2 separate regions of the Homo sapiens genome follow, and region 1 is linked to region 2. Evidence: promoter capture Hi-C in 16 types of primary human blood cells and fetal thymus (Javierre and others, 2016). All regions are on one chromosome and are shown on one strand. Each heading gives the region's core, a stretch centred on a gene start or on the middle of the fragment in contact. The rest is flanking DNA. Distances are from core to core; before and after follow the strand shown.

What was found. Contacts are between HindIII fragments. The CHiCAGO score rates a contact against its expected background, and 5 or more counts as called.
Region 1: a contact is called between a fragment that was not itself captured here and the fragment with the promoter of XCR1 in region 2, in 3 of 17 cell types (neutrophils, naive B cells and erythroblasts). The highest score is 7.6, in neutrophils.

The regions. Positions count from the first base shown.
Region 1 is chr3:46,370,702-46,376,453 of GRCh38, forward strand. It overlaps CCR5 (C-C motif chemokine receptor 5), which reads left to right and starts at 245. Exons shown (of 2, transcript NM_001394783.1): 1 at 245-287; 2 at 2,191-5,505. The coding sequence starts at 2,202. The coding sequence ends at 3,260. It overlaps CCR5AS (CCR5 antisense RNA), which reads right to left. Exons shown (of 4, transcript NR_125406.2): 3 at 543-716. The HindIII fragment of the contact is 1,948 bases long and covers 1,900-3,847 here.
Region 2 is chr3:46,026,219-46,031,600 of GRCh38, forward strand. XCR1 (X-C motif chemokine receptor 1) reads right to left here and starts at 1,265. Exons shown (of 2, transcript NM_001024644.2): 1 at 1,199-1,265. RefSeq lists a silencer at 3,834-4,003 and an enhancer at 4,603-5,103. The HindIII fragment of the contact is 606 bases long and covers 1,124-1,729 here.

The DNA of each region.
Region 1 (5,752 bases), core at 1,624-4,123, 350 kb after region 2:
TCTGTGTAGTGGGATGAGCAGAGAACAAAAACAAAATAATCCAGTGAGAAAAGCCCGTAAATAAACCTTCAGACCAGAGATCTATTCTCTAGCTTATTTTAAGCTCAACTTAAAAAGAAGAACTGTTCTCTGATTCTTTTCGCCTTCAATACACTTAATGATTTAACTCCACCCTCCTTCAAAAGAAACAGCATTTCCTACTTTTATACTGTCTATATGATTGATTTGCACAGCTCATCTGGCCAGAAGAGCTGAGACATCCGTTCCCCTACAAGAAACTCTCCCCGGTAAGTAACCTCTCAGCTGCTTGGCCTGTTAGTTAGCTTCTGAGATGAGTAAAAGACTTTACAGGAAACCCATAGAAGACATTTGGCAAACACCAAGTGCTCATACAATTATCTTAAAATATAATCTTTAAGATAAGGAAAGGGTCACAGTTTGGAATGAGTTTCAGACGGTTATAACATCAAAGATACAAAACATGATTGTGAGTGAAAGACTTTAAAGGGAGCAATAGTATTTTAATAACTAACAATCCTTACCTCTCAAAAGAAAGATTTGCAGAGAGATGAGTCTTAGCTGAAATCTTGAAATCTTATCTTCTGCTAAGGAGAACTAAACCCTCTCCAGTGAGATGCCTTCTGAATATGTGCCCACAAGAAGTTGTGTCTAAGTCTGGTTCTCTTTTTTCTTTTTCCTCCAGACAAGAGGGAAGCCTAAAAATGGTCAAAATTAATATTAAATTACAAACGCCAAATAAAATTTTCCTCTAATATATCAGTTTCATGGCACAGTTAGTATATAATTCTTTATGGTTCAAAATTAAAAATGAGCTTTTCTAGGGGCTTCTCTCAGCTGCCTAGTCTAAGGTGCAGGGAGTTTGAGACTCACAGGGTTTAATAAGAGAAAATTCTCAGCTAGAGCAGCTGAACTTAAATAGACTAGGCAAGACAGCTGGTTATAAGACTAAACTACCCAGAATGCATGACATTCATCTGTGGTGGCAGACGAAACATTTTTTATTATATTATTTCTTGGGTATGTATGACAACTCTTAATTGTGGCAACTCAGAAACTACAAACACAAACTTCACAGAAAATGTGAGGATTTTACAATTGGCTGTTGTCATCTATGACCTTCCCTGGGACTTGGGCACCCGGCCATTTCACTCTGACTACATCATGTCACCAAACATCTGATGGTCTTGCCTTTTAATTCTCTTTTCGAGGACTGAGAGGGAGGGTAGCATGGTAGTTAAGAGTGCAGGCTTCCCGCATTCAAAATCGGTTGCTTACTAGCTGTGTGGCTTTGAGCAAGTTACTCACCCTCTCTGTGCTTCAAGGTCCTTGTCTGCAAAATGTGAAAAATATTTCCTGCCTCATAAGGTTGCCCTAAGGATTAAATGAATGAATGGGTATGATGCTTAGAACAGTGATTGGCATCCAGTATGTGCCCTCGAGGCCTCTTAATTATTACTGGCTTGCTCATAGTGCATGTTCTTTGTGGGCTAACTCTAGCGTCAATAAAAATGTTAAGACTGAGTTGCAGCCGGGCATGGTGGCTCATGCCTGTAATCCCAGCATTCTAGGAGGCTGAGGCAGGAGGATCGCTTGAGCCCAGGAGTTCGAGACCAGCCTGGGCAACATAGTGTGATCTTGTATCTATAAAAATAAACAAAATTAGCTTGGTGTGGTGGCGCCTGTAGTCCCCAGCCACTTGGAGGGGTGAGGTGAGAGGATTGCTTGAGCCCGGGATGGTCCAGGCTGCAGTGAGCCATGATCGTGCCACTGCACTCCAGCCTGGGCGACAGAGTGAGACCCTGTCTCACAACAACAACAACAACAACAAAAAGGCTGAGCTGCACCATGCTTGACCCAGTTTCTTAAAATTGTTGTCAAAGCTTCATTCACTCCATGGTGCTATAGAGCACAAGATTTTATTTGGTGAGATGGTGCTTTCATGAATTCCCCCAACAGAGCCAAGCTCTCCATCTAGTGGACAGGGAAGCTAGCAGCAAACCTTCCCTTCACTACAAAACTTCATTGCTTGGCCAAAAAGAGAGTTAATTCAATGTAGACATCTATGTAGGCAATTAAAAACCTATTGATGTATAAAACAGTTTGCATTCATGGAGGGCAACTAAATACATTCTAGGACTTTATAAAAGATCACTTTTTATTTATGCACAGGGTGGAACAAGATGGATTATCAAGTGTCAAGTCCAATCTATGACATCAATTATTATACATCGGAGCCCTGCCAAAAAATCAATGTGAAGCAAATCGCAGCCCGCCTCCTGCCTCCGCTCTACTCACTGGTGTTCATCTTTGGTTTTGTGGGCAACATGCTGGTCATCCTCATCCTGATAAACTGCAAAAGGCTGAAGAGCATGACTGACATCTACCTGCTCAACCTGGCCATCTCTGACCTGTTTTTCCTTCTTACTGTCCCCTTCTGGGCTCACTATGCTGCCGCCCAGTGGGACTTTGGAAATACAATGTGTCAACTCTTGACAGGGCTCTATTTTATAGGCTTCTTCTCTGGAATCTTCTTCATCATCCTCCTGACAATCGATAGGTACCTGGCTGTCGTCCATGCTGTGTTTGCTTTAAAAGCCAGGACGGTCACCTTTGGGGTGGTGACAAGTGTGATCACTTGGGTGGTGGCTGTGTTTGCGTCTCTCCCAGGAATCATCTTTACCAGATCTCAAAAAGAAGGTCTTCATTACACCTGCAGCTCTCATTTTCCATACAGTCAGTATCAATTCTGGAAGAATTTCCAGACATTAAAGATAGTCATCTTGGGGCTGGTCCTGCCGCTGCTTGTCATGGTCATCTGCTACTCGGGAATCCTAAAAACTCTGCTTCGGTGTCGAAATGAGAAGAAGAGGCACAGGGCTGTGAGGCTTATCTTCACCATCATGATTGTTTATTTTCTCTTCTGGGCTCCCTACAACATTGTCCTTCTCCTGAACACCTTCCAGGAATTCTTTGGCCTGAATAATTGCAGTAGCTCTAACAGGTTGGACCAAGCTATGCAGGTGACAGAGACTCTTGGGATGACGCACTGCTGCATCAACCCCATCATCTATGCCTTTGTCGGGGAGAAGTTCAGAAACTACCTCTTAGTCTTCTTCCAAAAGCACATTGCCAAACGCTTCTGCAAATGCTGTTCTATTTTCCAGCAAGAGGCTCCCGAGCGAGCAAGCTCAGTTTACACCCGATCCACTGGGGAGCAGGAAATATCTGTGGGCTTGTGACACGGACTCAAGTGGGCTGGTGACCCAGTCAGAGTTGTGCACATGGCTTAGTTTTCATACACAGCCTGGGCTGGGGGTGGGGTGGGAGAGGTCTTTTTTAAAAGGAAGTTACTGTTATAGAGGGTCTAAGATTCATCCATTTATTTGGCATCTGTTTAAAGTAGATTAGATCTTTTAAGCCCATCAATTATAGAAAGCCAAATCAAAATATGTTGATGAAAAATAGCAACCTTTTTATCTCCCCTTCACATGCATCAAGTTATTGACAAACTCTCCCTTCACTCCGAAAGTTCCTTATGTATATTTAAAAGAAAGCCTCAGAGAATTGCTGATTCTTGAGTTTAGTGATCTGAACAGAAATACCAAAATTATTTCAGAAATGTACAACTTTTTACCTAGTACAAGGCAACATATAGGTTGTAAATGTGTTTAAAACAGGTCTTTGTCTTGCTATGGGGAGAAAAGACATGAATATGATTAGTAAAGAAATGACACTTTTCATGTGTGATTTCCCCTCCAAGGTATGGTTAATAAGTTTCACTGACTTAGAACCAGGCGAGAGACTTGTGGCCTGGGAGAGCTGGGGAAGCTTCTTAAATGAGAAGGAATTTGAGTTGGATCATCTATTGCTGGCAAAGACAGAAGCCTCACTGCAAGCACTGCATGGGCAAGCTTGGCTGTAGAAGGAGACAGAGCTGGTTGGGAAGACATGGGGAGGAAGGACAAGGCTAGATCATGAAGAACCTTGACGGCATTGCTCCGTCTAAGTCATGAGCTGAGCAGGGAGATCCTGGTTGGTGTTGCAGAAGGTTTACTCTGTGGCCAAAGGAGGGTCAGGAAGGATGAGCATTTAGGGCAAGGAGACCACCAACAGCCCTCAGGTCAGGGTGAGGATGGCCTCTGCTAAGCTCAAGGCGTGAGGATGGGAAGGAGGGAGGTATTCGTAAGGATGGGAAGGAGGGAGGTATTCGTGCAGCATATGAGGATGCAGAGTCAGCAGAACTGGGGTGGATTTGGGTTGGAAGTGAGGGTCAGAGAGGAGTCAGAGAGAATCCCTAGTCTTCAAGCAGATTGGAGAAACCCTTGAAAAGACATCAAGCACAGAAGGAGGAGGAGGAGGTTTAGGTCAAGAAGAAGATGGATTGGTGTAAAAGGATGGGTCTGGTTTGCAGAGCTTGAACACAGTCTCACCCAGACTCCAGGCTGTCTTTCACTGAATGCTTCTGACTTCATAGATTTCCTTCCCATCCCAGCTGAAATACTGAGGGGTCTCCAGGAGGAGACTAGATTTATGAATACACGAGGTATGAGGTCTAGGAACATACTTCAGCTCACACATGAGATCTAGGTGAGGATTGATTACCTAGTAGTCATTTCATGGGTTGTTGGGAGGATTCTATGAGGCAACCACAGGCAGCATTTAGCACATACTACACATTCAATAAGCATCAAACTCTTAGTTACTCATTCAGGGATAGCACTGAGCAAAGCATTGAGCAAAGGGGTCCCATAGAGGTGAGGGAAGCCTGAAAAACTAAGATGCTGCCTGCCCAGTGCACACAAGTGTAGGTATCATTTTCTGCATTTAACCGTCAATAGGCAAAGGGGGGAAGGGACATATTCATTTGGAAATAAGCTGCCTTGAGCCTTAAAACCCACAAAAGTACAATTTACCAGCCTCCGTATTTCAGACTGAATGGGGGTGGGGGGGGCGCCTTAGGTACTTATTCCAGATGCCTTCTCCAGACAAACCAGAAGCAACAGAAAAAATCGTCTCTCCCTCCCTTTGAAATGAATATACCCCTTAGTGTTTGGGTATATTCATTTCAAAGGGAGAGAGAGAGGTTTTTTTCTGTTCTGTCTCATATGATTGTGCACATACTTGAGACTGTTTTGAATTTGGGGGATGGCTAAAACCATCATAGTACAGGTAAGGTGAGGGAATAGTAAGTGGTGAGAACTACTCAGGGAATGAAGGTGTCAGAATAATAAGAGGTGCTACTGACTTTCTCAGCCTCTGAATATGAACGGTGAGCATTGTGGCTGTCAGCAGGAAGCAACGAAGGGAAATGTCTTTCCTTTTGCTCTTAAGTTGTGGAGAGTGCAACAGTAGCATAGGACCCTACCCTCTGGGCCAAGTCAAAGACATTCTGACATCTTAGTATTTGCATATTCTTATGTATGTGAAAGTTACAAATTGCTTGAAAGAAAATATGCATCTAATAAAAAACACCTTCTAAAATAATTCATTATATTCTTGCTCTTTCAGTCAAGTGTACATTTAGAGAATAGCACATAAAACTGCCAGAGCATTTTATAAGCAGCTGTTTTCTTCCTTAGTGTGTGTGCATGTGTGTGTGATGTATACAAAGAGAGAGATAATTGTATTTTTGTATTTTCTTTTAAATAATTTTTAAAATTGACCCTTTTCCTGAGACAAATTGCCAGAATAGTTTGTATTTAGAGATGGTACCTCTAAGAGTAAGGTTGCT
Region 2 (5,382 bases), core at 15-2,514:
CAAAAATTTCAGAGGCAGTCATGTTCTGGGCCTGGAAGCCTTTGGAGATAAAAAGGAAAATGATGTCAAATCTCAAACCCCTCCAAGTTACATTCAGTGAACTGGCTCCCTTTTGCTGGTTGTCTCTCTCCCTCCCCATCTCTGTGGCCCACCTCAACTCTAAGGGAGTGAATTTAGCTTTCTGGACTGTAATATAATTTAGATTGAGAAAGACAGCTCTAAATTATACAACCACCAGTAATAACAAGGCCTTACATAAAGATATGTAGCCAAATAAACCTCTCTACTTCTTTCAGCATAAGAAAAATATTATTTATATGTTAGGTCTACTCAAAGTATGGTTCCCAGATCCATTTTTCTTCTTCTTCTTTTTTTTTTTTTTGAGATGGAGTCTCGTTCTGTCCCCTAGTCTGGAGTGCAGTGGTGTGATCTTGGCTCACTGCAAGCTCCGTCTCCCAGATTCATGCCATTCTCCTGAATCAGCCTCCCAAGTAGCTAGGACTACAGGTGCCCGTCACCACACCTGGCTATTTTTTTGTATTTTTAGTAGAGACGGGGTTTCACCATGTTAGCCAGGATGGTCTCAATCTCCTGACCTCATGATCCACCTGCCTTGGCCTCCCAAAGTGCTGGGATTACAGGTGGGAGCCACCACGCCCAGCCAATTTTTCTTCTTTGATTTTTTTTTTTTTTGACAGGGTCTCGCCCTATCACCCATGCTGGAATGCAGTGGTGTGATCACATCTCAACCTCCTGAGCTCAAGTGATCCCCTCACCTTAGCCTCCTGAGTAGCTGGTAGTACAGATGTGTGCTACCACACCTAGCTAATTTTTTGGGGTATTTTTTGCAGAGATAGGGTCTCATCATGTTAGGTAAGGAACTCCTGGACTCAAGAAATCTGCCAGGCCAATCCGGAACTCCTGGACTTAAGCAATCTGCCAGCCTTGGCCTCCCAAAGTGCTGGAATTACAGGCATGAGCCACTGCGCCCAGCCCAGATCAGCTTTTCTGAAAAGAATGCAGATTCTTGGGAAATCCCTATACCAAAGGAATAAGAGCCTTCAGAGGTAGCTCAGGAATCAGCATATTTACTAGCCCTCCAGGTGGTTCTGATGTGCAGCAAAGCTTAAGAACTCCTGATATAGGCTGTTACAATTAGAGGAAAACATAAGTTTAAAATGTTTGTAAAGGAACTCACCTGAATCTACACCTCTTTACATGCGTCTTGAGGCAGAAATGGTGCTTCTCTGTTTCATATTTCACTTAAAGAAACTGAAACACCTGTCCTGCCCAGAAGGCTGGAGGAGGAGGATGGGAGGAGTCTCAGAGAGAGCCAGGGGGCCAGAGGGGGACAGCTAGTGAGAGAGGAGGAAGGAAGAAGCCAGTCAGGCAGGCAGTTAGGGTGGATCCTTGGTGGAACTCCTTCAAACCAAGAACAGCCTGAAAATCAAGCTGCAAGCCCTGGATAAAGAAAAGAGCCTGCATGTTTGAATAGAAACGCCTACTCCATGAATCCAGATGAACAAATTCCACTCCTTTTTTGAACATATATCCCTCTCCTTGGCACGCCTTTGTCTCATTTCACATGCTTCCTCCCGATTGGTCCTTACCTTTTACCTGTTTAACATATACCTATCTTTCTGTGATTAGCTGCTCGCCAAATTTTCATTTGCATAAAGTGTAACGTCACTTCAGCCCCTGATTGGTCCTGGGCCAAGGTCTCAGTCCAAGCTTTCACTTCAGCCCCCAATTGGTTCTTTACACTATTGTACCTCTTCCTGAGTAGTGCTTTTTCCAAGCCTACCCATAAACCAATCAGCACGTATTTCCTCATTCTAAGCCTGTAAAAACCTGTGACTCAGACTTTTAGCTAGCAACCCTCTTTTGGGTCCCCTCTCTTTGCTGAGAGCTTTTCTGTGGCTTAATAAATCCAACTCTGCCTTCTTCACTCTCCAGTGTCTGTGTGCCTTATTTTTCTTGGTCGTGGGACAAGAACTTGGAGCTCACCAGTGGGGGGAGTAAAAGAGCTGTAACACTCCCTCCCACTCACCAAACAACAGGAGTGAAACAGCTGCAACAGTAGGAGACAGTTTTTCCACATCCTTAATGAATAAAGATGTTGAGCATCTTTTTATATGTGTATTGGTCATTTGTGTATCTCTTTGTAGAAGTGTCTATTCAGAACCTTTGCCTTTTAAAAATTTGAGTTATTAGTCTTTTTATTATTAAATTGTAAGAGTTATTTCTACATTCTGGATACTAGATCCTTATCAGAGATATGATTTAAAAATAATTTATCTCATTCCTTGGGTTTCTTTTTAATTCTTCATAATACCCTTCGACACACAAATGCTTTACATCTTCTTTTTCTTTTCTTTCCTTTTTTTTTTTGAGGCAGGCCCTCACTCTGTCACCCAGGCCTGAATTCAGTGGCATGATCAGCTCACTATTGCCTTGAACTCTGGAGCTCAAGAGATACTCTCGCCTCAGCCTCCTAAGTAGCTAAGACTATAGGTACACAGCACCACATCCAGCTAATTATTTTAATTTTTTTGTAGAGACAGGGTCTCACTATATTGCCCAGACTAATCTTGGACTCTTGGCCTCAAGTGATCCTCCTGCCTTGCCCTCCCAAAGCTCTGAGATTATAGACCTGAGCCACCATGCCTGACCTGTTTTTAACTTTCACGAAATCTAATTTATAAATTATTTCTTTTGTTGCTTGTGATTTTGCTGTTGTAGTTAAGAAATCCTTGCCTAGTCAGGTTATAGGGATTTATAGCTATGGCTTAGCTCTGAACTTTCAGTTATATTCCATTGGTCTTTGCATCTATCCTTATGTCAGTACCATAGAGTTTTGATTACCTTTGTAGTAAGTCTTGAAATCACAAATCCTCCAACTTTGTTCTTTCTTCTATTCAAGATTGGAGACATATAGATCAATGAAATACAATGGGGAAAGCCATACATCTATGGTCAATTGATTTTTTGTTTGTTTGTTTTGAGACAGGTTCTCACTCTGTTGCCCCGTCTGGAGTGTAGTGGTGCGATCATGGCTCACTGCAGCTTCAATCTCCCAGGCCTAAGTGATCCTCCTACTTCAGCCTCCTGAGTAGCTGGGACTACAGGTGCACACCAACATGCCTGGCTAATTTTTATAGAGACAGGGTTTTACCATGTTTCCCAGGCTGGTCTTCAACTCCTGGGCTCAAGTGATCTGCTTGCCTCAGCCTCCCAAAGTGCTGGGATTGTCAACTGATTTTTGACAAGGGTCAAAAATCAAGACCATTTACAAGGCCATTCAGTGTTAAAAGAATATTCTTCTTAACAAATGGTGCCAGGAAAACTAGATAGTCATATACAAGACAAAGTTGTACTCTTACCTCACATCATATACAAAAATTAACTCAAAATGGATTAAAGAGCCAGATGCAAGGGCTAAAAAACCTACAACACTTTTGTGTGTCAAAGGACACTATCAAGAAATTTTAAAAGAATTTTGATGGAAATTGCATCGAATTTGTAGATCAGTTTGGGGAGTATTGCCGTTTTAACAATATTGGGTCTTCCAATCCGGGAACACTGAAAGTCCTTCTATTTACATATGTCTTCTTTAGTTTTTTTTCCACATTGTTTTGTGGTTTTCAGTGAGTAGATTTTGTGCATTCTTGGTTAAATTTATTCCTAAGTATTTTTATGCTATTGTAAATGGAATTGTTTTGTTAATTTCATTTTCAGATTGTTCATTGCTACTGTATAAAAATACAACTGATTTTTATATATTGATCTTGTACCTTGAGCTTATTTATTAGCTTTAATAGTTTTTTGTTTTTGTTTTTGTTTTTTTGGTGGATTCTTTCAGTTCTCTATGTACTATAAAGTCATGACATCTGCATATAGAAATAGTTTCACTTCTTCCTTTCCAATCTGGGTACTTTTCCCCCCACCGTGTTTAGTTGTCCTGGCTGGAACCACCAATGCAATGTCAAATAGGAGAGGACAATGGACATCATTGTCTTGTTTCTGATCTTAGGAGAAAAGCTTCTAGTCTTTCACTACAAGTATGATGTTAATTGTGGGTTTTTAATACATGCCTTTTATCAGATTAGGAAATTCCCCTCTATTTCTAATTTGTTGAGTGTTTTTATCATGAAATGATGTTGGGTTTTGTTAAATGCTTATTCTGCATCTCTTGAGTTTATTGTATGGAAATACCACAGATTTTTTTATTCCTTCACCTATTGAAGGACATCTTGGTTAATCCTATTTCTTTGAAATTATGAAAAATACTTTATGCACTATACACTATGTATAAAAAAGTATTTTATACACGATATGTATTTGAATGCAGGTTTTTGTTTACACATAGTTTTGAGCTCGATTATAACTAGGAGTGTGATTGGATTATATGATAATAATGGCAGTGGTGGGCCATCCAGAGCAGCTGCTACCATCATGCCAGCTGCAGCAGGGAGGCATGAGCGGTGGTGGCAGGAGCAGCTGCAGGAGCAGCAGTGGGGGTGGTGGGACCTCTGTGCCCTGCATCCCCATGCCCTGCATCCCTGAGGCAGCTTACTGCACACCACCCCTACCCTTGCATGGCCGGGCAGGACCTACTCTCAGGCCTGGAGCCTCTGCCGCAGCCTCAACTCATTCCCTGCCGTGTTCTGGGAGCCTGTGAGTATCTGGCCAAAGGTGTAGCTGGGACTTTCAGGGCTAGCCCTGGGAGTGTCAGGTTCATTTGTGCGGGGTTGGCCAGGGCCACCACGCCACCTGCACCTTGCCCAGAACCACTGTGGGGAAAATGCGGAGAGGAGGTGTGGCTGGGGCTGCATGCTCCACACAGCCGGCAGGAGCTGGGGACAAATGGGAGCCCTGCCCCTTAGAAGTTGGTGGGACACGGAACTCCCCAGGCACAACTGCAGCTGCTGAAGCCATGGCTGTGACTTGGGCACCCCTGTGCTCTTGGGAGCTAGGAACAGGCAGGAGCCCCGCCCTCCAAGGCACTGCTACAGCCACCCTGCTGTAGCTATGGATCCAGGCATCTCTGCACTGTCGGGGGCCTGGGAAGGTCCCCCGCTGCCCACAGGCTTGGAAGTACCTGCTCCTGCTGTTTGGCTTCTCCCCACTGTCACTGCCTGCTCTGATCTTGGAGTAAGGTTGGGGCCAAGCTTGGGTGCTGTTGCAACCTGGCCAGATGTGTGCATGCTTGGGGCAGTGCTGACATGCTAGGCCCTGTCACCTTGGCCCCCTCTGGACTTTGTGCACCGATGAGCACAGGAGGAAGGCTGAGGAGGGGGGCGCTGAGGGCAGCTCATTCCTGGCCTGCAGGCAACCCTTGGCATGAACAGCCTGAGTCCCATAAACAGTGGTGGGTGGTGA